Regions from separate parts of the Homo sapiens genome. Here regions 2, 3, 4, 5, 6 and 7 are each linked to region 1. The links are contacts of gene promoters, found by promoter capture Hi-C in blood cells and fetal thymus (Javierre and others, 2016). All regions are on one chromosome and are shown on one strand. Each heading gives the region's core, a stretch centred on a gene start or on the middle of the fragment in contact. The rest is flanking DNA. Distances are from core to core; before and after follow the strand shown.

Region 1 (3,332 bases), core at 623-3,122:
GGGCTTGCCCTGAAAGAGGTCGAGGTTGGGCAGAAAGTAGTGAGGGCAGCGGCGGCACTGCAGGCAGGAGATGAGCTGCAGCAGGATGCCGTTGAGCCGGTCGCCCAGGCACGACTCGTCCCAGTCCGTTTCTCGTGGGTGTTTCTCGCACTCGTACAGCAGCAGCGTCTTCATGTGGTAGTTGTTGAGCGGCTGGCCGGGTAGCTCCAGGTGGCGGTCCCGCAGAGTCTTCAGCACTGAGAGGCACTTGTTTCGGCAGCCGCCCATCAGCAGGCGGTTCTCCGCCTCCCCGAACTGTAGCACCCAGGCGTCGCTCTCTGCCGAGCTCTGCTTGCCGGTCAGCGAGTAGCACTCCTTCGAGAGCAAGTTGAACCCTTCGGCCTTGACCTCGGCCACCCGATTGGGGCCGGGCCAAGGGATGTGGGGCATAGGCCACTGTGCCGCGCTGCGAGGCCAGATCCCGGTGCACTTGAACGCCGGAGTGATTTGCACCACATAGCGCTCCCTGATGCGCAACTTGACCTCGCTGGTGTCCGCGATCATCTTGACCACATCCCGATAGCTGCACTTGTCCACCGCCTGGGCCACCAGCGTCTGGAAACGCGAGCGGATCTTACGCGCTGAGAGATAGCCCGACGCCGTGATGAACTCGACCCAGAGAGACATGCTCCGCTTCCGCCCATCGCTCAGTTTGAGCACTGCGCAGCCGGGCAGCGAGCCGTCGTCCACGAAGTTGAAGACGCCCATCTGGTTTAGGTAGAGCACCACCTCAAATTCGGTGGGCGAAATGACCTCGAGCCCCTCGTAGCGGGCATCGATCTCGCTCAAGGAGCTGATGAAGCGAGGCTCCTGCACCTCCACTTCCTTGAGCACGTCCGAGACCACCTTACAGACCTCTCGGATGGTTTTGGCGATGGCCGCCTTGCGCGCCTGACAGCGCTCAGTGTAGTACTTATTGAGCTGGTAAACCAGCTTGGCCTGAGCGGCGATCATGTTGGGGCACAGGTCCGGGCTATACACCGGCGTCTCGCAATACGTTGAGGGATCCAAGGCTCACGCACTGGTGGTGGCCCAGCGGCTTTCGAAAGAGGCGGTGCGCTCCCCGTTAAGCCCTACTTTCACTCTCGTTTTCCACCTGGGCTGACCGGCTGATACCGTAGCCGGCTTGTTTTTTCCTTTTCCCTCTTTCGAAACCTCTTTTCTTCTGCAGAAGAATTAGGGGAGAAAAGGTGATTTTCTAAAAAGAAAAGTACCTCTTGGAACCTTTTTGCTTTCTCTTGATATGTAAAGATGACCGTGTGCGAGAGAAGCGGGGTGGGCGTGAGGAAGGAGAAGGAGAGGGAAAAAACTCAGGATACCAAAAGGTTAGGCTTAGATGTCTGCAGCCGAGATTGTCCAGAAATCTGGAAATGAGGTTTTTTAAGTGCCAAAGTAAATTTAAAAATAAAAGCGAAACATTCAGTGGTTCATTCTTAAACTTCTCTTCCACGCTGATAGGACTTCTTCGCTCAGTGTAGGTGAGTGCCTTCTTCCTCACCCTCCCCCAAATGGAAGGTGCAGGAGGTAATTAATGTCCAGAGAGCTGCGAAGTACAACTCAGTCCGCCGTGCACTTGGAGGTTTGCTGACGCCCCACAGTCTCAGCGTGTTGGTCTCGTCTCTTCTCGGGGGGTCGTGTTATCGCAGTTTTCCTCTTTTCCTACTGGAGGCGTTGTTTGGACTGGGTTTGTTTGTTTGTAGTGGGTTCTCCTTGTGTTTCTTTAGGTGCAAACCGCTGGAAGTTGTTTGATAATCATTTCTGCTTCGTAATTTATACTTTTGGCCCTCACAAAATCCGTTTTAGTGTGACGAAGTCGTTGCTTGCGTTGCATCTGGGGTGTAGTTATAACGATTCAGGGTTTTCCTTCTTCTCCTCTAGCTTGCTTTTACAGATTCCACTTTCTGAGTCGTCTCTCCCCCTCCTCTCCCCTCCGACCTCTTTCTCGCCCCGCTCTCCCCCTGCTTCTCTCCCCCGCCCCCCTTCCTCGTGCTCGCTCTCTCTTCTTTCCTCTAACTCTCTCTGTCTCTCTCTCTCCCTCTCTCTTTCTTTCTCTCTCTCCCTCGCTGTTTCCTGGAGTTATTTAGTTTATGAATGGTCCCAGGGCCATCATGAGGGGGTGGAGCTTCAGTTCCTACAATCGCTATCCGAGCTGTCAGTGCTTTAGCCAATCCGAGAGAGAAGACAGGCACGCTTGGCGAACGGTAGCAGCCACCACTGCACTTGATAAAGAAACAGGGTAAAGAGAGAAGTAAGAAAATAGGAGGAGATAATGGGAGTCAAATGCTTGCACACATTTTACAGCCGTTCCTCTTTATCCTCCTCTCTTATCAGTAGCAAAGAAGAAAAAGAGTTTATATAGAAGGGACTCTCCTGGAGATGGCTGGAATAACGCGAGGGAGAGTAGCAATGGTTCAGAAAGGTTCACTTTTTTTTTTTTTAAATGATTCTATCAACATTGTGTAGTAGAAGGTGCAAACTGTAACAAAATTACTTTGGCTTGAAGGCAAATGGGAAGCGAAAGGGGAATCTGGGAAAGGACCTAATTTTTCCAGGTTTTTTCCTCCTTTAAAGTCATCCTCCTTTCTCTTCCCCTCCCCTCCCATTGTTGCCAAGAATCAGAGCAGTTGCTGTATATGTGCACCAGTGAGGGTTGGAGTGGATATAAGGTGAGGGTTTATAAATCTCTTTTTAGTAATTTCGATATGCTGTTTAAAAACAGGGCAGGGCAAAAACTAGTCCAAGCACCTTGTTTGATAATTATTTCATAATTAAGATTCACATGTATTTAATACCATTATTTTATCGTTACAAGAATTAACTAGTTACGAGAGAGAAAATATCTAAGTTGTGAGAAATGGTGCAAACTTACATGTCGTAGAACTTAGTAGGATATACTTTTAAAATAAGCTACTAAAATTGCTTCAAACTTAATGAAAAACAAGGCAAGTAAATGTAAACCTAAAGTTTTCTTAAAATCTTACTGTTGTAAATCTAATTGTGAATGTATTCTTAGGGGGTACAGGTACAGAGTTTCATTTGTAAAATGATTTTATTTTCATAATTGACTCTTGCTTTTAAAAGACTTCACTGCCACAAAAATCTATAACTATCCTGTTATTGATTACACAGATGGCTTCACTCCTCCCTAGGCATTTCAATGAAAGGCATGCATGTGCTTTTAGTATATGTATTATCCTAAACGAGTTGTACCCACTGTAGCCTTTCCATACTTTTGGGTGAAAAAAAAAGCTAGAACATTGTTTCTGATTTGCTTGATACTGAGGGTTTATGTA
Region 2 (3,332 bases), core at 311-2,810, 250 kb after region 1:
TAAGGATTTGGAACGGAAGGCTTTGAGTCACATAATCAAATTTGCAACTTAAGGATTGAACATCTCCTTGCAAGTCTGAGTATATTCAGCCCCTTAGAAGAAATATGAAGGCTGCCAGCTAATGCTTATATTTTTGGTCATTGTAAGATACTTTTATTCTCAGTATAGTCTTGCATTAGAAGTTAAAAAAAATAAATTGTTTAAAGGCAGAAGCACTCTGTTAATTTTCAATGAATCTATCTAGGACATTGTCTAGATTGACCCGACTTTAAGATAACCTAAAGCCAAAATGTCTTAATAATTATTGAAGGTGGCTAATGGATATGTGGGGATTCATTATCCTATTCCATAACAAAAAATGTTACATAACTGAATGTCTAAAAAGTGATCACCTAGCACCAAAACTCTCTAGGTGAAGGAGAGTTCATTAAGAGCAGTTGAGGCATTTGGTAATGTCTGTTAAGCTACCCTATTACCAACCCACCTTGCTGAACCGTACAGGGTTTAAGGATGCTTGTATGTTTCCTGTTATTTCACACCTCATTTATGCCTTTAAATTTTTTATTGCTCTATATAGAGGGCTGAATAGGCAAGTGAAGATAAGGCAAGAAACATAATCACTTGAGGGACTTTTTCAAATCATACATATTACCCCAGGATTTCTCACTTGACCTTAAGAATTACTACTATAGTGAGACAATGGAGTGTTGTCCTATCCTCCAGTATGCTGGATCTGAAGAAATGAGAATTACTGCCTTTAGTGACATCTTTCAGAGCTTCCCTGAGAGACTCATTTGGTTTCTTTCTAATAGCAAATACCAGCCTTTACTTAACACTCCTTATCCTCCCCTGCAACCTCAGTCAGCCCTCATCAAGAAGTGTGCTCATCTCTCAAGCTTGGTTTTGTCCCCAGTCCAACCATAGATGAGCCATAAGGGTTCCTGGCTAGCTTGCTATATAACAGGCACTCAGTAAATTTTTTGTTGTCTAAATACTATGTGCAAGGTACTGTTCCACCTGTTGCACATATATGGTATTCAGACCCTTCTAGCAGGGGTCCCTGACCGCCGAGCCACAGCCTGTTAGGAACCAGGCTGCATAGCAGGAGGTGAGTGGTGGGCAAGCATTACTGCCTGAGCTCTACCCCTGTCACATCAGCCACAGCATTAGATTGTCATCGGAATGCAAACCCTATTGTGAACTGCACATGCGAGGGATCTCGGTTGCACGCTCCCTATGAGAATCTAATGCCTGGTCATCTCAGGTAAAACGGTTTCATCCCAAAACCATATCCACCCCTCCAAGCAGGTCCATGGAAAAACTGTCTTCCATGAAACCAGTCCCTGGTGCCAAAAAGTTTGGGGACCAGTGCCTTATAGTGTAGTTGTAGTGACAGACATAAATAACATTACAGGAAATTCTGAATCAAGTATATACTGTAATGAGCAGTATGAACAGGTGTAATATTATTTAACAAGATTAGGGAAACTTGGTAGAACTCAAACAGGGTTTTCTAGAGAGGAGTAGAACTTAGAAAACTGAAGATAAGAGTGACCATTCTAGGAGGGTCAGTGGCATGGTAGAAAATGTAAGGCAGAGATGGCTTATATTTGTAGAAGAAAACCAGCTTGACTGAAAAGGAACACTGGTATAAGGTAATAGATAGAATGAGAGAATAAAAGTTAGAGAGATAGGAAAACCTGCAATGCCTGGCATTAGCTTTTATCTTTTAATTACTGGAATCACTTGAAGACATTTGATCAGAGAAATATTGCATAAAGGCGAGTTTGGGAAAACTTAGTTCTGCAGGATATGCTGGAGGCAGAAACTGAATAGAGGGGGAAAACCAGCAAAGAGACTGTTATAATAATCGATACTTGAAATTATAAGGGGCCTAGATTCAGAAAGGAGTGATGAATGTGATAAACTTCGAAGTGATTGGGCTTAGTGACTTTATATGTGAAACAGGTAAAATTTTTAAAATGTAGACAAGATTCTGAGCTTTAAAAAATCAGAAGAATCTAATTCTTGACTGAGAAATGCTAAAATAAAAAATAGTATTTTAAGATTTTAGATGTGCTAAGACATACATGTGCTTACACACAAGATGGCCAGGGCAAACTTCATGGGAGTGGGCAATCCTCTGGTCATAGGACTGGAAACCTTTCAGATAGGGGCAGAGTTTGAGGCCCAGTAGAAAAAATTTCCAAGAAAGCAAGCTTAAGTTGAGTGAATCATAGTGCTAAAAGAGAACTCACAGTAATAAATTTATTTATGGATGACAAGTCAGCAAAAGACAGAGATTAAAGGAGTAGACTACAGAGCCAGTCTAAGCATTAAGCCATTGAAGCCACAGAAGGGAGAATCTCTGTAAATTGCTTCAGAGATTAAGATGAATGAAAAATGGCAAATGAATTTTAAAAACAAGGAGGAGAACTGGAATTATCAGTTGATGATATACAGTGTGACTATAAAGTTTTGAGATCATAGTCATTACCTTACAATCTTATTCTATAATTTTCACACTTGAAAAAGTCCTTTCTGTTGCATTTTTAATATCAAGAACTGAAAGGTTCGTTAAGAAGTAAAGCATTTGTGTCTGAGAATTCCACAGCCTTTTCAGATGCCTTCAAGACTTGGAAAGAAAATTGATTATTATTTAACCTGTGTGAGAGACTATAGCTTTTATTCTGTCATTGAGATAGAATAATCAGACCACTATATTACGTGATTTAAAAAAGCCTTTTCCTCAGAGTTTTCAGTAATGTGCCACTTGTATTAAAATGTTAAGATTAAAGTTAAGTTAGTTAAAAAGAGGAGATTGGTATTTTCAGAAGTTGTCTCATCCATAACCTTTCATCTCAAAACATTGTTAAGTGCAAAACACTATATGTAATATTAAGGCCAGTTATATTAAATTTGTATCTATAATAAAGATGTATATGCTACAATGTCATCATTCATAGCTTCTCTATCATAGTTGGCGTTACTGCCCATTCTCTCTTCAAAACCCTCATCCTATGGCTTCCATATCACTCTATGCTGCTTTTCCTCCCACCCACCCTCTGACTGCCCTCTCTCTGTCTTCTTCATTACTTCCTCATTTGTACCCTAAATATAAATACTTCTTGAGGTTCTGCTCTAGGTGCTTTTGTGTCTGGGTCTCATGTATTTTCATCCTAGGGCTTAACGAGTATAGTTTCAAACTGTGCTCCAGAGCCCTAAAGAATTCTCAGAATTGTCTCAGAGGCTGATGAGGAGGCTTGTTAGGGATGGTTTCACCCCTGTAAAGTTGAATAACCCTATCTCCATGTATTGAGGTTTCATGTGAT
Region 3 (3,332 bases), core at 285-2,784, 230 kb after region 1:
CTTCTAATTCCAATATACTTCATATGAAAAATTATAGAATTGAATGATACAACCTTAATCTGTACAATTTTAGAACACAACTGCGTTTAGGAAACCAGGAGCTTTGATTCATGGGGCAAGTTATATATCACTTTGAAGGGAACATTATTTGTAATGTGTGAGATTTGCCATTTTTCCCTAGCACTTGATGCATTCTTTTATAGTTCTACTAAGATCTGATCATGCGGAAGGTATGTAAGTACATATTTAAATAAATTGGCATATTATCACCTGGCTTATGTGCTAGATAAGTTAGCATGCACACAAAAGCACTGTGTACTAGATGTACACTTGCATTAAATTGCCCAAGTTTTAAATTGCTATGTTTCAGTTTTAAAAACTGTGGTAGCAGAGAATTGGGTCACATAAACTCTTAAAGACTCTTCCAGTTGTTCAGTTTTTTGAAAATACTCCTTCTGGGGGTATTTTATTTGATCAGAACATCAATTGACTGTATGACACAGAATATACATAGGATTCCATAAAGGTATTGAGGTGAGAGCAACATACAGGTAGTGTTACAAAACACTGCATAGTTTTATTGTTGGGATAAAATAGCATAGGCCTATTTACTTTCTTTTTTTTGTTCATTTTGGCAATATTTGAACGTAATACTTTATTCTGTTAAATGCCCATAATTCTTCAACAAATATACCAGCTATTTTTGTTTTCTCCTGTTATCCTGTAGTAATTATCCATATCTCTACATAGCTGATATATAACTGAATTCTCACTGTAGAACTGATTTTATAATTTCTTAAAAAGAGATTGGTTGTATTTAATATACCAGCATATTGTTTTTTGTACCAGCATAAATTGGTTGTACTTACTATGCCAGTATATATTTTTTGTGTCACTATATGCAATCTCCGTATTTCTAATTTTGAAATTCTGTAATGTTCTATAGAGTTGCTGTGAAAATATGCTTAACACTGTTTCTCTCAATGCAAGATCCTATTACTTAAAAGACTTGTCTCTTGGTATGTCCAAGATGACATAAGTAGCTCTACTTTTCATTAAAGGTTACGCAATGTTTTCATGATTAAAAATGTCACTTGGCCTATATCTGTTTGTCATGGCTAGTTAACAAGTAGTACACTCAATCAGCTAGTTATTTCCTCTATGAGTCACTCTATGTGCTTGGCTTTTTATTTTTATTCTGGATTGACCACTGTCCCCACTTACACACCAATGATTGTTTAAGGAAGTTTACTGTGCGTTAATCTAGAAGAACACTGTCTAGAATTTTCTGCAGTGCTGGAAATGTTCTCTATCTGCACTGTCTAATAAACCATGAACCATATGTAGTTATTGTACATTGAAATGTGGCTAGTGTGACTAAGGAACTAAATGCTTAATTTTAATTAATATAAATTTAAATAGGCACAGATGACTAGAGGCTACAGCATTGTACAGCAGAGAGTTAGAAGACTTATGTTTGTCTTTGACCATCTTTTCTTACTCTGAGTTCAGCATATGTGATCAGACAATGGAAAAATAAATGTTAAATTGACTTGGTAGGATATTTCAAAGTGGGAATACTCCATGTAGACATTAGATATATATTTGAATATAGGTGTAAGCTCAATTATATTTTTTCTTTCACCTAAACTAACACATTATAATTTCAAATAAAATTGTTTATTGTGATAAATATATATAACATAAAATTGAACATTTTTACCTTTGTTTTTTTTTTTTTTTTGAGACAGAGTCTCGCTCTTTCACCCAGGCTGGAGTGCAGTTGCGCAAGCTCAGCTCATTACAACCTCCGCCTCCTGGGTTCAAGTGATTCTCCTGCCTCAGCCTCCTGAGTAGCTGGAATTACAGGTGCCTGCCACCACGCCTGGCTAATTTTTGTATTTTTAGTAGAGATGGGGTCTCACCATGTTGCCCAGGCTGGTCTCAAACTCCTGAACTCAAGTGATCCGCCTCCCTTGGCCTCCCAAAGTGCTGGGATTACAGACCTGAGCCACTGCCCCTGGCCATTTTTACCATTTTTGAGTTTACAGTTCAGTGGCATCAAGAACATTGACATTCTTGTACAGCCATCACCACCATCCATCTCTAGAAATGTTTCATCTTCCCAAACTGAAACTCTCTAAGCATTAAACAATAACTCCTCATTCCTTCCTCCCCAGTCCCTGTACAATTACAATGCTACTTTTTATCTCTATAAATTTGACTACCCTGAATACCTCATAGAAGTGGAATGCTGCAACATTTGTCTTTTTATGTCTAGCTTATTTTACTTAGCGTAATATCTTCAAGATTTGTCCATGCTATAGAATGTATCACAATTTCCTTTCTCTTTAGGCTGAGTAATATTCCATTGTGTATATATATATACCACATTTTGTTTATCCATTTATATATCAATGGGCATTTTGGGTTGTTTCCATCTTTTGGCTATTATGAACAATGTGGCCAAGAGTATGGATGTACACCATCTGTTCAAATGCCTGCTTTCAATTCTTTTGGATATACACCCAGAAATGGAATTTCTGGATTATGTGATAATTCCAAGTTTAACTTTTTGAAGAAGCATCATAACAAATAAGTGTTTTTTTTTTTTTTTTTTTTTTTTTTTTTTGAGACAGAGTCTCACATTGTTGCCAGGCTGGAGTGCAATGGTGTAATCTTGGCTCACTGCAACCTCCGCCTCCCAGGTTCAAGTGATTTTCCTGCCTCAGTCTCCTGGATAGCTGGGATTACAGGCATGCACCACCATGCCCGGCTAATTTTTGTATTTTTAGTAGAGACGGGTTTTACCATATTAGCCAGGCTGGTCTCGAACTCCTGACCTCATGATCTGCCAGCCTTGGCCCCCCACAGTGCTGGGATTACAGGCATGAGCCACCGCACCCGGCCACAGATAAGTTTTTAATATTTATTTTTTATGATCAACTTTTGCTAAAGACCGTTAAAACTTTTGCTTTAAGTTTGACTTCCTTTTCTTTACCACAATCCTAAGTAGTTAATTATGAGAAAATTAAGCCTTAACTGATAGTCTTCCACACATCACACCTTAATTTGTTTTTATATTATACATTATATAGACTTATATATAATATATATTCTGTATTAGATTTGGCATTTATTAAACATGGCCTGTGATATTCTAAGTATGGTAGGTATTTGATATTCTTGAAATGAGAATATATCGCTTTGTTACTTAGCACTATTAAAATAAATACACACATTTAATTTATAAAACTTTCTGAATATCATTAAAATAAATGGGGCCAGGCGCAGTGGCTTACACGTGTAATCCCAGCATTTTGGAAGGCCAC
Region 4 (3,332 bases), core at 415-2,914, 210 kb after region 1:
TCTTTTGGGTTCCATACTCCTTTCGCTTTAGAAAGTAGCAATTGAAACCCATAATATGTGCCAGCAACTTTCTTAGGCATGAGATATTCTTTGGAAGACAAAGAAGAGGAGAAAAATATAAACATCATGTTTTAAAAAATTATCAGTTTTATTTTTTGGAGCAGTTTTAGTCTTACAGAAAATTTGAGCAGAACCTTTAGAGAGTTCTCATATATACCTCTTACTATTCCTCATCTCAGTACACCATATTATTAACATCTTGCATTAGTGTGGTACACTTACTGTGTTATAACTGATGAGCCAATATCAATACATTATTATTAACTAAAGTCTTTGGTTTATATTAGGGTTCACTTTTATGTTAGACTTCCTGTAGGTTTTGACAAATGTATAGTACCATACAGAATAGTTTTACTGTCCTAAAAATTCCTTATGCTCCACCTATTCATTCCCCCTTCCTCCTCCACTCCTGGCAACCACTGATCTTTTTATAGTCCCCATAGTTTTGCCTTTTCCAATGTATCATATAGTTGGAATCATATAGTATGTAACCTTTTCAGATTGGCTTCTTTCATTTAGTAGCATGCATTTAAGATTCCTCTATGTCTTTGTGTGACTTGATAGCTCATTTCTTTTTATTTTGGAATAATATTCCATTGTATGGATGGACCATAGTTTGTTTATCCATTCACCTACTAAAATATATCTTGGTTGTTTCCAACTTTTGGCAATTGTGAATAAAACTTCTGTAAGCATTTATGTTAAGGATTTTGTGTGAGCATAAATTTTCCTCTCATTTGGGTAAGTACCAAAGAGTGCAACTGCTAGATCATATGGTAAGAGAATGTTTAGTTTTGTAAGAAACTGCCAAACTGTCTTCCACTCCACAAAACATTATTTCTTAATGTATTTTGGTAAGTTTTAAGATAGAGTTATCACAGTGGAGGCGTTGAGATAGAAGTATCATAGTTAAACTAGAAGAGGCTAGAAATTGAGCAGTCATGAAGAAAGCACTGGGAGCCCTAAGGCACGTGTACAAGGCTGTCAAAAAGATCAAGAACATGTCAGCATCATAATTTGTAGTATGATACTTGGAAGAAAAGTTCAAATGTAATAATGGAGGACTCTTTAAAAAATGCTGCCTCACTAATGCTCTTATAAAGGCATGGAGGACAGTACTATATGGAGAAACACAGAAATCAACACCTTTGAATCAGGAAGCATTTCAGAAGAGGTAGACTCTCAAACATTTTACAAATATTTCATTTATATTTTCTTTTTTATATACGTACAATACTTAGCAAAATCTGTCAAAAAGTTTGATAGTTCTTTCAATGAATCTAAAGTTAAAATTCTGCATAAGTAAGCATTTTGTTATAATTATTTTGCAGCTCTTATATTTCTTAGCAGTACCTGAAACAAAGGTGTTTGGTCTAAAAAAAAAAAGTATATTTTTTTAGGCATCATATGTTTGTATGTGTTCAGTGGGTCTCAGCCAAAGGTTGTTGAACCATTAGAGCCACCACAGCAATTTCTAAGCATTCTGAACATAGTACATTTACCTATAAAAAGGCAACCTGGGTTAAATTCAACCTTCTTGTGCTTTCAGCTAAATTATATCAGGTTAGCACCACTGGTTATCTCCTAATCAGAAGGTCTGGCAGATATATGCATCTTTGTGAGATTATTTTATAACATTTGATTATTTGATAACATTTTGCAAAACATGATGTCCATGGAGAAGAGAAAGAATGAGATAGTTAAAAGACATCAAGATTATATTAAGAGGACCACCTTAATATGTAATATTTTAATGACATCTTTTAAACAAATTTTACACCTAGTAATACTTACTTTTGGGCCTGAAATTGACTAAGTCTTCAAACATCTATTTATCTACTAGGAATATTGAGTCTTATAACCAGTGTTTAATTAATCTGACTCAAGGTTCATTTATTTTTAAAAAAGAAAGAAGGAAAATAGCTGTTTGGGAACTATCAGCTTCTGAGTCTCCAGTCTCTTATTCCCACAGTCCATACACCATCAGATATTTGAACACTCCAAACAGTTTAATCTGTTTTCAGGCTATGTGCCAGTGAAACCAAATATGGTACACAAAAAGACATCTATCCTGTTAACATGAGTGAGAGGAAGAGAACAATTAGATAATGCAGTAATGTCTTTAGATGTGTACAGAAGAAGCTCTTTTTAGAATATGTTTTTTAAATTACTTGACATCACCTTGTGTAAGTTAAACAGGATTTGGTTCTCAGTATTTTCTTCCTTTAGAGCTGTCTTTCCAAGAAGGATGATTAAGTGAAATATAAACATCCACATGAAAAGTGGACTGGTTTTCAAACATTTTAGTGATTTGTTTTTTTAAATAAACAACTGATCGTTGTTACCTTTAGTGAAGATACAGTATTCCTTAGATTGTTACATAATGAAAAGTAAATTTTAAATGTTTTTGTATATACATAGCCTGAAAATGCTTCAGTAATGTTCTAACTTAGATGCTGTTTAAATTTAACTTTTGTTAGACTGTTAGCCAGTACTCTGTATGTGCTGTCCAGAGTGATAATGTGATGCCATATGGTGGGTATAAAACAACCTTTCATTTTCTAAAAAATTGTAGTTTAATGGACAATTTTGCTTTATAGTATTTTTTTTTCCTTTTTAAGGAAGTATCTGAGTTTTTAAATCTTGTGTTAAAGTAGTACCACTGATGGGAACATTTTCTGGAGCTCAGATAATGAACAGTAGTTTTCTCCGAAGGTAAACTGTGAATTGGGGGTATTATGAAGTGAGCACTGAAATCTCGGAGGACTACAGCAGCATAGCATATTGTGAAAATCTGGAACCGGCACCTTGAGAGAATGAGGATTAACCCCCTTGAGTTATTAATGGCTGAGTTTGAAGGATACCTCACTGTCCCTGTGTTGCTTTCAATCCTTTTTTATAGCACATGGTGGCCTTTTAAAAATACAGTAATATACTATTTCTTAGTCTATGTCTTTTTAATATTACCATTTCTAAAGTTACAGAAAATATCCAGAGATAGAGTTTAGGGATTATATTGACAATCTTAAATGCGTTTATGTTGCCTTTTTAAGATGCCATTTATTATCAGTATAAGGAGAATATTCTTCATAGAAGAATATGAACGAATTAGCTAAAACATTCGGATAGACATTTATCCCTTTCTTCATGCTTTTTATTGGAATGCATTACTAAAAGTAGCTTAGGGTATAAGCAAATTACTTCATTTTGATTCTAGATGCTGAGCTCCTAATAGCTTTTAAATTTATACAGTTTTTGTTTAGCTGTCAAAA
Region 5 (3,332 bases), core at 452-2,951, 170 kb after region 1:
AAATTTCATTAGTTTTTCAGAGAAGTAAATTATATTTTGTTCTGAACAGTTGGAATCAGGGTAAAACCAAAGCAGTCTTAATTATATCCCTGAGATTGGTCCCTGTTATCTACTATTACCTGAACTAGGAAAAAAATTTATTTCAGATACAGCATCAGAAATATAAATGAGAAAAAGGCTTTCATACTTTCAAATAATAGAAAAATTTATGAGTTCGGAATGCCCATCATCTGTCTCTTATGATATAATGTCAATGTTTGGACCTACATATTATACTGCCTCTTATAACCTTCAAGTTTCATGTTGAATAAGAGACAAAGAAAACCATACTCTGGGGAGAATCACTAAAAGTTGACCTTTAAAAATAGAGCATTTTGTTTTAGCCAAAAGATACATAATATACATAATTGATTCAAATTATAATAGTTCATTCATTTAACATGTATTTATTGGGTGCTTGCTTATGGACCAGCACTATTAGATTCGATGAATAAGAGACAATATCCCTATTTGGAGATTACCTTCTCTTTGATACCTTGTTGAAACAGAAAGCTTCTCAAGGCCTGGAGGTGGCATTAATATAGCAAAGGAAGCGTTCTCTTGTTGAATTGTCCTAAGGTTACCAGTTAAAATCACATTTACTTTTGTGTATGTTCTATAGCTTTTGTCTCCTCTACTATTTCATAATGGTGACACAAATAGTACTCACTTAACAAGGTAAAGAAAAATAAAATGAATATACTATCTGCTTTCCATTATCATCAGAGAATATGTGGACAAGTTAAAAGAGATGCTGTCCTTTCATAGTATTGCCTGACAGGAAAAAACAAGGTTGATAAAGAAATAAAATCTAAACTTGTTTCTATCATTGCTAAAATTTAAATCTATTCAACATAAACCTTTATAGATCTTACACCTCTGAATGAATTAGGTCAATCTTGTATAATTTTTTTCTCTGAATGGAAAATTTACACTTCTCAAGTGATGACAGCATAGAGACAGACTGTCATGCCCCCCACTGAACAAGAGTGGGGAAATGACATTCTTAAGACCACTGACCAGACAACATTTAAAAAAAAAAATTTTTGGAATTGAAATGCCAGAAGCTTTTTTCAAATTGTTTTTTTTGTTGTTATTGTTTCCTTTTCATTTCCCATATTGATAATGATGTGGCCAAGAATGTAAACAGCCGTGGTGGCTGCAGTTGGAAATAATTATTGTTAGCTGAGGGTATCTCCCTCTCATGTCTTCATCCTCTTTACTCCCAGTGCAGTGGTTGGATTTAAATTCCCTGGGAATGTAGGGAGATAGGTATGAAGAGTCTAAAATTACTATTGTTTGGTTTGCTTTTAGCCGTGATATGTAATTTACTGTGAAATTTTTAGTTAAAAAACGAGGACACCTAAATAAGAGGAAAAAAGATTTGCCATATTGATAGATTGTTAATTCTCCCCACATTTATTTATAAAGTCAATGTAAAAATATAAAAACCATTCAGTAGGTTTACTTTGTTTTGTTGGAAGATGATAAACTGATTTTAAAGAGCAAAGGACCATTATGGCCAAAATCCTTTTGGGGAACAAGAGCAGATTTCAGAGGGACTTGCTTTACTAGATATCAAAAATTATTATAAAGCTATAGTAATTAGGGAAGGAGAAGTAGTACAGGAAAAGTGAACAGAGAACCCAGAAATAGGCCAGGATATGTAAAGAAACCTCATCCATTATAGAGCTAGTATTGCAGAACTGTGGGGAAAGGAAGGACTTTTCAATTTAGGATTCTGAGATAAATAGTTATTTTATTAGTTTCCTAGGGCTTCTGTAACAAAGTATGATTATCTGGGTAGAAACAACAGAAATTTATTGTCTCACAGGTTTGGAGTCCAGAGGTCTGAAATCAAAGTTTAGCAGGGTTGATTTCTCCTAAATGCTGTACGGGAAGGACCTGTTCTAGCCCTCTGATTGGCTTATATGTGGCTGTCTTCTCCTTGTGTCTCTTCACATCATCCTCCCTCTATGCATGTCTGTCTGTCCAAATTTTTCCTTTTAATAAGGACACCATTCATATTAGATTAAGGACTCACCCTACTCCAGTATGGCCTATCCTAAATAAAGACTTCTGTAATGACCCAATTTTCATATAAGGCCACCTTCTGAGGTGCTGTTAGGTTGAGACTTTAACATAAAAATTTGGGGGGAGTGGCCACAATTCAACCTATAGCAGATATATGGGGAAAAAAATTTTAATTGGAACCTTATTTTATGCCACAAACAAAATGAAAGTATATTAAAGCTTTATATATAAAGGTAAAACTATAAACTTTAACAAGATAATACAGGAGAATTTCTATGTGATATTGGAATAGGGAAAGATTTTCAAGCAAGAAACAAAAAAGTGAAATATGATATATTATATAAATTGATTTTTGGTTGTTAAACCAGCCTTGCATTCACAAATATATTACACTTATATGTTTTAAGTTCTTTTGATATGTCCTGGATTTTTGTTTTGTTAGTATTTTCTTGAGGAATTACTACTTTTGAGGATTTTTGAATCTATATTTATGAGGAATATTAGTTTGCAGTTTTTTTGTGATATCCTCATCTGACTTTATTATCAGGGTAATACTAGTCTCATAGAATGAGACATGGCAGTGTTCCTTCTTCCTCTATATTTTTGAAGGACTTTGTGAATGCTACATATTATTTCTTCTTTAAATGTTTGGTGGAATTCACCACTGACGCTATTTAGGCATGGCCTTTTCTTTGTGAGAAGATTTTAAATTACCAAATCAGTTTTTTTAGTTTTTATAGGTCTATCAAGATTTTTTTTAAATTTTTTCTTGAATCTATGTCAGTAATTTATTTCTTTCTTGGAATTTGTCCATTTAACTAATTTATTTTTATAAAGTTGTTCATAGTATGACTTATTATCATTTTAATTTCTCTAAGGTTAGTAATGATATTACCTCATTTATACTGATTTTTGGTAATTGGTGTTATCTTTTTTTCTGGCTCAGTCTTGCTAAAAGGGTTTGTCAATTTTGTTGTCTTTTCAAAGAGCCAACTTTTTGTTTCACTGGTTTCCTCTATGGTGTCTCTGTGTTCTCTTTCGTTGAGTTTTCGCTCTAATATTCATTCTTTCTTTCCTTTTGCTTGCTTTGGGTTTAGTTTACTCTAACTAGATTATTAAATTGGAAACCTAGTTTTTTTATTTGAGTTCTTCTCTTCCAATATCAGGTTTTCCAATTACAATTTTCTCGTTATGTGTGGTTTTTGCTGTATCTCATAAATTTTGATATTTTGTTTCCTTGTTTTCATTCAGCTTATGCA
Region 6 (3,332 bases), core at 237-2,736, 160 kb after region 1:
CCATCACTGGTCATATCTTGGATTTTTCACTTAAAAACCTATTTTATAATTTAATGTGCATCATTAGTGGTGAGTGTATTAAGTTATGAAGTTAGTAGGGTCAGTAAAGTATATTCTATATTTACAGTTAAGTAAATAGAATGCAATTAAGTCCTAAGAGATACTAAATATTATTTTAAAAATAAATGACTATGCAGTAATATTATATGAACTCATATATAATTTAATATTTAACCCTTAAAAAGTTTTAAATTACATATGCATGTTAAATAATAATATACAGTAGAGGTGATCATAGAATAGTTTTGTGGCTTGTGAGATTTGTAAAACATGAGACCTTTGACTTCCCTTTACTACCTCAGAAATCCCAGAGGTCTGCAATCTGAAGATAAATTAGGTTTCTTCTTTCCCTAGCAGCACATCTTCTACCATGTTAATACATTCCATGGATGCTGATATCATCAACATTAGGCCCGTTTATAAGAAAATGCTTAGCTACAGTTAATAGAACATAATTGATGGCAATGTATTTCTTAATGTATTTATTTTTTAAAAAACTTAAACTTCGATGATTTAGTAATTTTATTTTCTTAGTAAAAAAAATCTGCATCCGGTTCTCAGACACCATTTTAATAATTTAGAGTTTTAAAAAATGCTGAAAGAAAGTAAAATTAAAATCTTATCCTTATTCATGCATTTGCACATTTTCAACTTAAGTGCTCATTCCTTTCTCCTTCCTATCTTCCCTCCTTCCTTCTGTTTTTTGCCAGCCTCTCTTCTTTTTCATCAGTGAGCTCAAGCTTTCTCAAATATGTCTGTTTATCCTTGCTTTTTATACGTAACTTATAGATAACTTGCGATTTGTTAATTTAGCCACATCTCTTTAGCCCTTTTCTTCAAGTATCAGTAGGTTAAATGATGAAACTTTGTGCTAATTAAGTATTGAAGTTTGTACTCGTGTCTACAATGAACTACATTTTGCTCATTGATAAAAATTACTTGAAACCCTGAATATTTTTCTTCTCATGCTATTTACATACTATACAGGAAAATTAAAAACCTATTAAGGCATTTGGAAAATATTCATGTCTTCCAGAATTATAAAAATGCATGCATATGTCAAGTGTGATTTGTTTTTTGACTGGTGATCTTATCATATTTTTTGTTCAACTAGAAAATGTAGACTGTTCATTAATGCGTTCTTAGATACTGAGATAAGTGGTTCTTCTCCCATACTAAATATATGTCTACCACTTATTCCAGAAATTTTATTTGCATCTTCTCTTACGGCAGTTACAGCTCACTTTTTGTTTGCATTATTATTGCCCATTATTTCTTTCCAAATTATAATTTATTTGGAGATAAGGGTCTAGAACAGCAAAAGGCCCAATGGAGATGTCCATTTCAAACATGGAAGTGAAAAATGTGTTGAAAGCAAGAAAGAACCATAAATTATTGGGGATATTTATCATAATATGAAGCATGTTAAACCCTACTGTCATTGCTAATAAAAAAAATAATATATTTGTTTTGAATGTCATAGTTATTTGGCAGGAAGTATTAAGTCTCAAATATTTTTGTGGGCATATATATTTTTGAAAGTAAGTTTTGTTAAGTATTCTTAGAGTTATGTTAAATGCTTTTATAAATGGGCATAATTCAGTGAATGACCTATTGGCTTTAGGATTTAGGCAAGTTGAGTCTGTAATTTGGGATTTTTATCATGAATCCTACTAATGATAATAATATCTTATGTATATATAGAATTCCGCATTATCCCATATGAGCCTCACAGCAAACCCTGTGATTTTGAAATGGCAATTGAGGTGAGTAAGGGTCACAGAAATTAAATTAATTTGAGTACATGTGACAGTAAGTTGAGTAGACAAGACTTAAACCCAATTATTTTTTCTACTATATCAGATTGAAATAGATTATCATTTATCTATTGATTTGTAATCCATGATTTTTCTTTATTGTAATGCATTTGAAATAACAGTTTTATAATATCTAAAAACCACATAATATTTATGGGGTTGGTCTGGAAGGATTATAGATTATTTTTTCTTTTCCAATTTTGAAAATGATTGTTTTTCTTTTACTGTAGGAAAAAACAGCATTTTATCTACCAAATTAGGACAAACTAAATTTAAATATCAACTTGAAAGCTTTCAGATATGCAGTTGATTTAAAATAACTATTATAAATGCAATTCAATGTTCTTGATCTCTAGTGAATTTTTTAAAAGTTTTATTATGGGCTAACAAAATAAATCTTGAAAATTAAAATGTATCAAAACATGCACATTATATTTTTATAATATATTGTTAATCAGCTCTTTTTTGTTAATTAAGAAAGCTTATTTTCAATTTTTTAAATCATTTTTTCAGTGGTGAAAAGCTAAAATTTTGCTTTCACATTTTTTTACCATCAGTGTCCCTAAGCAGTGCACCTTAAATTAGTTAACTTCTAATTTATCATGCTTCTATTTGAGTTGTCAATATTTCATATTTAGGAAAAATGAAATAAATATTTAATTTTAACTAAAAAGGAGCTTCTTCATTTTTATTTCTATTTTGATTATCTTGTTTCTTTTTGGTTGATAGATTAGTAGTTGGTATGTTTGCCCCAATATATTGAAGTGGTGGGTTTAGTTCAGTGCATAGAATTGGTGACTATTAAAAGGAGAATCATACAGCCTGGCTGCAAAGGTTGTTCATATCAGTGGAAATTATACCTTAATAAAGAAAACTAAAGCATATGTGTGGTCACAACCAATCCTTGTCATTATGCCATGAAAGCCTTGGGATTTGTGATCAAAGCAATGAGCTTATCCTGAACTGTGGTGTAACCTCTGGTTGAACCTTTCAAATTTTTATCTTAGGAGATGATACACTAAATGTTGGCCATGTTACCTGCCTCTAAGACCCATCTACCTAATTAAGTGATAGAGATTAAAATTATTTTGAGCAAGCCAGAAGAAAACGTGAATTGTAAATGTATCTGTCTTCTGTCAGTGTTGTTTACTTATCATTTTCCACTGATGTTTTAAAGAATTGCTGAACATGTGTTTTTTATCCAGAGCTGACTGTTCTGTTCTGATGAATATAAAACATACTTCACTTTGTAAATGTGCATTAAAAGTATTAGAAAGGCATAATCTTTGACTCTGTTACTACATTTCATCTGTCAAAAGAGATAATTTTGAACTGTAATATTTGGTATTGTATCAAGATATGGTTCTTAGAAAGATGCTTTTAGTATTAAAATGGAATTCTACTGTATAACTTAAATGCCATTGTCATCCACAGTAAGATTTTGGCTGTATTATG
Region 7 (3,332 bases), core at 603-3,102, 140 kb before region 1:
CCTATAATTCCAGCACTTTGGGAGGCCAAGGTGGGCGGATCACTTGAGGTCAGGAGTTCGCGACCAGCCTGGCCAACAAGATGAAACCCCATCTCTACCAAAAATACGAAAATTAGCCAGGCGTGAGGTAGCACATGCCTGTAGTCCCAGCTACTCGGGAGGCTGAGTAATGGGAATCGCTTGAATCTGGAAGGCAGAGGCTGCAGTGAGCCAAGATCGTGCCACTGCACTCCAGCCTGGGGGACAGAGCAATACTCTGTCTCAGGAAAAATAAGTAAATAAATAAAGTTATAAGTTTTTGTTCTACAATTTCTGTATTTCATAAGATACTATAGAATTTAATTCACATTGTCTTCCCAAAAGGAAGAGGAAAAAAAAAAAACCCAGTTCTTCTTAGGAGTCTTTTCTTTTTTGGTCTTAAATGTCAATGATCACAAAAACTTCTGGGTTTTCTTTATTATAGACCTGCATTGCTGAATATGTTATAACTTTGACTTCGGTTCCCTGAGGGTGATTGGACAATGAAAATTCTTCTCTCCACCCAATTGATTGTAATTGGAAATGTCTTTGATCAATACAAAGTACTTTCACTTCCCAGGGTATGAAGAATTCATCAGCATTGGACTTATAAAGCCACTCATCTAAAAAGTGAAAAAGAAAAGTAGAAACTTCTTGGGTTTCTACTTCTATTGTTTGGAGAGGCTCCACAGTCCTGGTATCTATCATGTAACCAAATATGGCCATTGCACATTGCTCAAATGCTTCCTCCAGAGTATCTCCCCATGTGTGTAACTGGACATCTGCTGTATGATCCAAATACTCATAATTCCTATTAACTGGAGGATAGTTGGCCTTGATCGCCTTCTGTTCCTCAGTCAAATTGTAATCTCTAACATCTCCCTCTTTCTGTGCCATGACTGCCTTGCTTGACTTAATATTGTTGGGTAACACTTAAATTCCCTTAGAACTTTGCAGACATTGCTTTGTTATCTTCTGACTTTGAATGTTGCTTTCAGAGGACAGTCTGATATTTTCCCTTAATTTCTGATTTGCTTTTTGTGTCTTCTGCCTGTGATTTCTTTGTCCAAAAAATTCTTTAAGAGGAATATGGTTCAGTATTGAACATTATTTATCAAATTATCCTGGGACATAGTTTCTTGTTATAATCAGCAGATTCTGATTTTTCCTTCAGTTCTTAGAAAATTTTTTAGATTATACTTTGAAATACCACTTTCACTTTATTTTGTTTTTTCTTGCTTAGTAACACTTAATAATATGTTAGATATATGTTTGTCTTTCACATCTATTAGTTATTCCTTAGTTGCTTGACTTTCTTTGATCCTTAGCCTTATTTTTCCACCAGTAAGTACATTTTTAATGTTTTATTTTGTCCGGGATATTTATTTGTAATTTATTTATTATGTCTATAAAGCTTATGTTTTGTTCCTAATTTTGTTTATTTAGGACTTCAGCCTCTTTCCTTAGTCACTTTATTTTGAGTTTTATCTTATTTGCATTATGTTTTTGTTATGTTGTTCATTAGAAAAAATAATCATGAATAATTTTCTTTTACTCCTTGAGATACTTTTTCATCAGATGTTTTGTCTTTTCTATATTAACGTTTTATTTTAAATTTATGTATTAACTTATTTGTTGATTGATTGGTGCTATATGTTTGTATAACTACCATACTTTTTTGTTCCATTGTGTTCATTCTTAGAATGCTCTGTGCAGATATTCTGTTGGCTTAGACAACAGGATATCTTAGTGACTTATTTCCCTCTCCATTCTCTGTGTAAAGCTAATATTTCCCTCTCCTGAGCTACAGTTTGATTTTTGTAGAATATCCTATGGCCTATCATGAAGAGGAAGAGCTTATTTGAAATAGGTGAGGAGTCTTTCTTAGAAATCCTCATTTTTTTCTAAGATTTTGTTAAATATTTTCTACCAAGTTCATTCTATCTCATTAGACTATAGACAGTTCTCATGGGAAGATGTGCTTAGGCTTTGAATCATTTCCCTCAGTCATTTAAGAGAGTAGAGTCGAGTTTACTTCTGTTTTAGTGAATCAGCCGCATTTTTCAATTTCTTGCTTCACCAGTATTTGTTCTGTAAGTTTTTCTGGCATCTCCAGGTAGAAGAGGAAAGAGGTAACGTTACCTACTCAGTTTGTTTCTCTCTGTATTTGAAGGCGTTAAGAAAATTATCAGAATTTTGTCAACTTACCAATATTGCTTTGGGGGCATGGGGACATGATTAAGAACTAAGCTTTGTTGCTCCCTCAGTTCTAGAACCAGTTTGTTTTTGTTCCCCTTGGCAACCAATTTTTTAATGTTTGGTGATTTATGGTACATTCCTTACATTGTTTCATTATTTTTAAAAATTATTTTTTGTTATTTATTTATTTTTTGCTAATTTGTTTTTAGGAAATGAGGAAGGAAAAAATATGTAATTGCAATATCAGCCTACCATCCTAACCTGGAATCTATTTCTTAGTGTACTTTCTAATTAATTATGGAGATGCTTTCTTTGTTGTAACTATGGGTTAAGATTGCACTTTTTTTAAATTTGAAATTTAGTGATTGTGGTGGTGGGTAGTGTGTGTTCTTTTGTGTGTGAATGAGAGAGAATGATGGAGTAAACGTGGAATTGGTGTATGAATGAGAGAGAACGAGGAAGGTGGAAATGTGGAATTGAAAATTGAAGAAATGTTTCTAAAACTCTGTTGTGAAAGAGATTAAATTGATTTGATCTGAAAAGTATATATATTTTCAGTTTCGGTGAGGAATGATGGTGCCAACAGTAGCTAATATTTCATGAATCCTTATGCTATTTCAGTAGCTATTAGAGGTATATATAAGTAGCAACTAATTCTTACAACAAACCTCTGAGATAGTACTGATATTATCCCTCATTTTATAAGTTTGAAAATAGCATGAAGTAGAAATAACCTAGAGTTACAACTTGGATCCAGATCCAGGTAATCTGTTTCCCAATTACTAATCTATGAATTTGGTTCAAATTTTATTAGATTTCTAAAGACCGTGTGAATAGGATCTAATCCTCGAATACATTGCAGCTTTATTCTAAGCTATTTAATTTTATGTTTTGTCTAATATAGTTTTTCATTTTAATCATTGTGCTATGAGATTTGCAATATTGTGTAGTATTTTAAGGTGTTATAATAAAATTTCTAAATAAAACAAGAAATATTTCCAAATAAATATTGTTGTTACTTAAAATTTTAGCAGAGAAAATATATTTGTTCATCTCTTCTACATCAGAGTCAATTTTAAGAGAGCAAACGTATATTTTTTCTTATGTCTGCTAGT

The links. The method cuts DNA at HindIII sites, captures the fragments that hold promoters and counts their contacts. A CHiCAGO score of 5 or more calls a contact.
Region 2: a contact is called between a fragment that was not itself captured here and the fragment with the promoter of MAB21L2 in region 1, in 3 of 17 cell types (megakaryocytes, endothelial precursors and M1 macrophages). The highest score is 9.8, in megakaryocytes.
Region 3: a fragment that was not itself captured here is called in contact with the fragment with the promoter of MAB21L2 in region 1 in 1 of 17 cell types (megakaryocytes); the score reaches 5.4 in megakaryocytes.
Region 4: a fragment that was not itself captured here is called in contact with the fragment with the promoter of MAB21L2 in region 1 in 1 of 17 cell types (megakaryocytes); the score reaches 6.2 in megakaryocytes.
Region 5: a fragment that was not itself captured here is called in contact with the fragment with the promoter of MAB21L2 in region 1 in 1 of 17 cell types (megakaryocytes); the score reaches 7.4 in megakaryocytes.
Region 6: a fragment that was not itself captured here is called in contact with the fragment with the promoter of MAB21L2 in region 1 in 1 of 17 cell types (megakaryocytes); the score reaches 5.3 in megakaryocytes.
Region 7: a contact is called between a fragment that was not itself captured here and the fragment with the promoter of MAB21L2 in region 1, in 1 of 17 cell types (megakaryocytes). The highest score is 5.1, in megakaryocytes.

The regions. Positions count from the first base shown.
Region 1 is chr4:150,580,691-150,584,022 of GRCh38, reverse strand. It overlaps MAB21L2 (mab-21 like 2), which reads right to left and starts at 1,872. Exons shown (of 1, transcript NM_006439.5): 1 at 1-1,872. The coding sequence starts at 993. The region is part of intron 40 of LRBA (LPS responsive beige-like anchor protein); the gene reads left to right. LRBA-AS1 (LRBA antisense RNA 1) reads right to left here. Exons shown (of 2, transcript NR_149035.1): 2 at 2,789-3,332. The HindIII fragment of the contact is 6,793 bases long and covers 1-3,332 here.
Region 2 is chr4:150,328,478-150,331,809 of GRCh38, reverse strand. The region is part of intron 48 of LRBA (LPS responsive beige-like anchor protein); the gene reads left to right. Among named protein-coding and RNA genes, the nearest start is that of LRBA-AS1, 250 kb to the left of the region's middle. The HindIII fragment of the contact is 1,323 bases long and covers 899-2,221 here.
Region 3 is chr4:150,346,058-150,349,389 of GRCh38, reverse strand. The region is part of intron 48 of LRBA (LPS responsive beige-like anchor protein); the gene reads left to right. Among named protein-coding and RNA genes, the nearest start is that of LRBA-AS1, 230 kb to the left of the region's middle. The HindIII fragment of the contact is 7,057 bases long and covers 1-3,332 here.
Region 4 is chr4:150,367,660-150,370,991 of GRCh38, reverse strand. All of the region lies in intron 47 of LRBA (LPS responsive beige-like anchor protein), which reads left to right. Among named protein-coding and RNA genes, the nearest start is that of LRBA-AS1, 210 kb to the left of the region's middle. RefSeq lists an enhancer at 3,241-3,332. The HindIII fragment of the contact is 4,698 bases long and covers 1-3,332 here.
Region 5 is chr4:150,407,845-150,411,176 of GRCh38, reverse strand. All of the region lies in intron 47 of LRBA (LPS responsive beige-like anchor protein), which reads left to right. Among named protein-coding and RNA genes, the nearest start is that of LRBA-AS1, 170 kb to the left of the region's middle. The HindIII fragment of the contact is 1,186 bases long and covers 1,109-2,294 here.
Region 6 is chr4:150,425,004-150,428,335 of GRCh38, reverse strand. All of the region lies in intron 46 of LRBA (LPS responsive beige-like anchor protein), which reads left to right. Among named protein-coding and RNA genes, the nearest start is that of LRBA-AS1, 150 kb to the left of the region's middle. The HindIII fragment of the contact is 1,368 bases long and covers 803-2,170 here.
Region 7 is chr4:150,718,564-150,721,895 of GRCh38, reverse strand. The region is part of intron 36 of LRBA (LPS responsive beige-like anchor protein); the gene reads left to right. It also overlaps the pseudogene ZBTB8OSP1. Among named protein-coding and RNA genes, the nearest start is that of MAB21L2, 140 kb to the right of the region's middle. The HindIII fragment of the contact is 836 bases long and covers 1,435-2,270 here.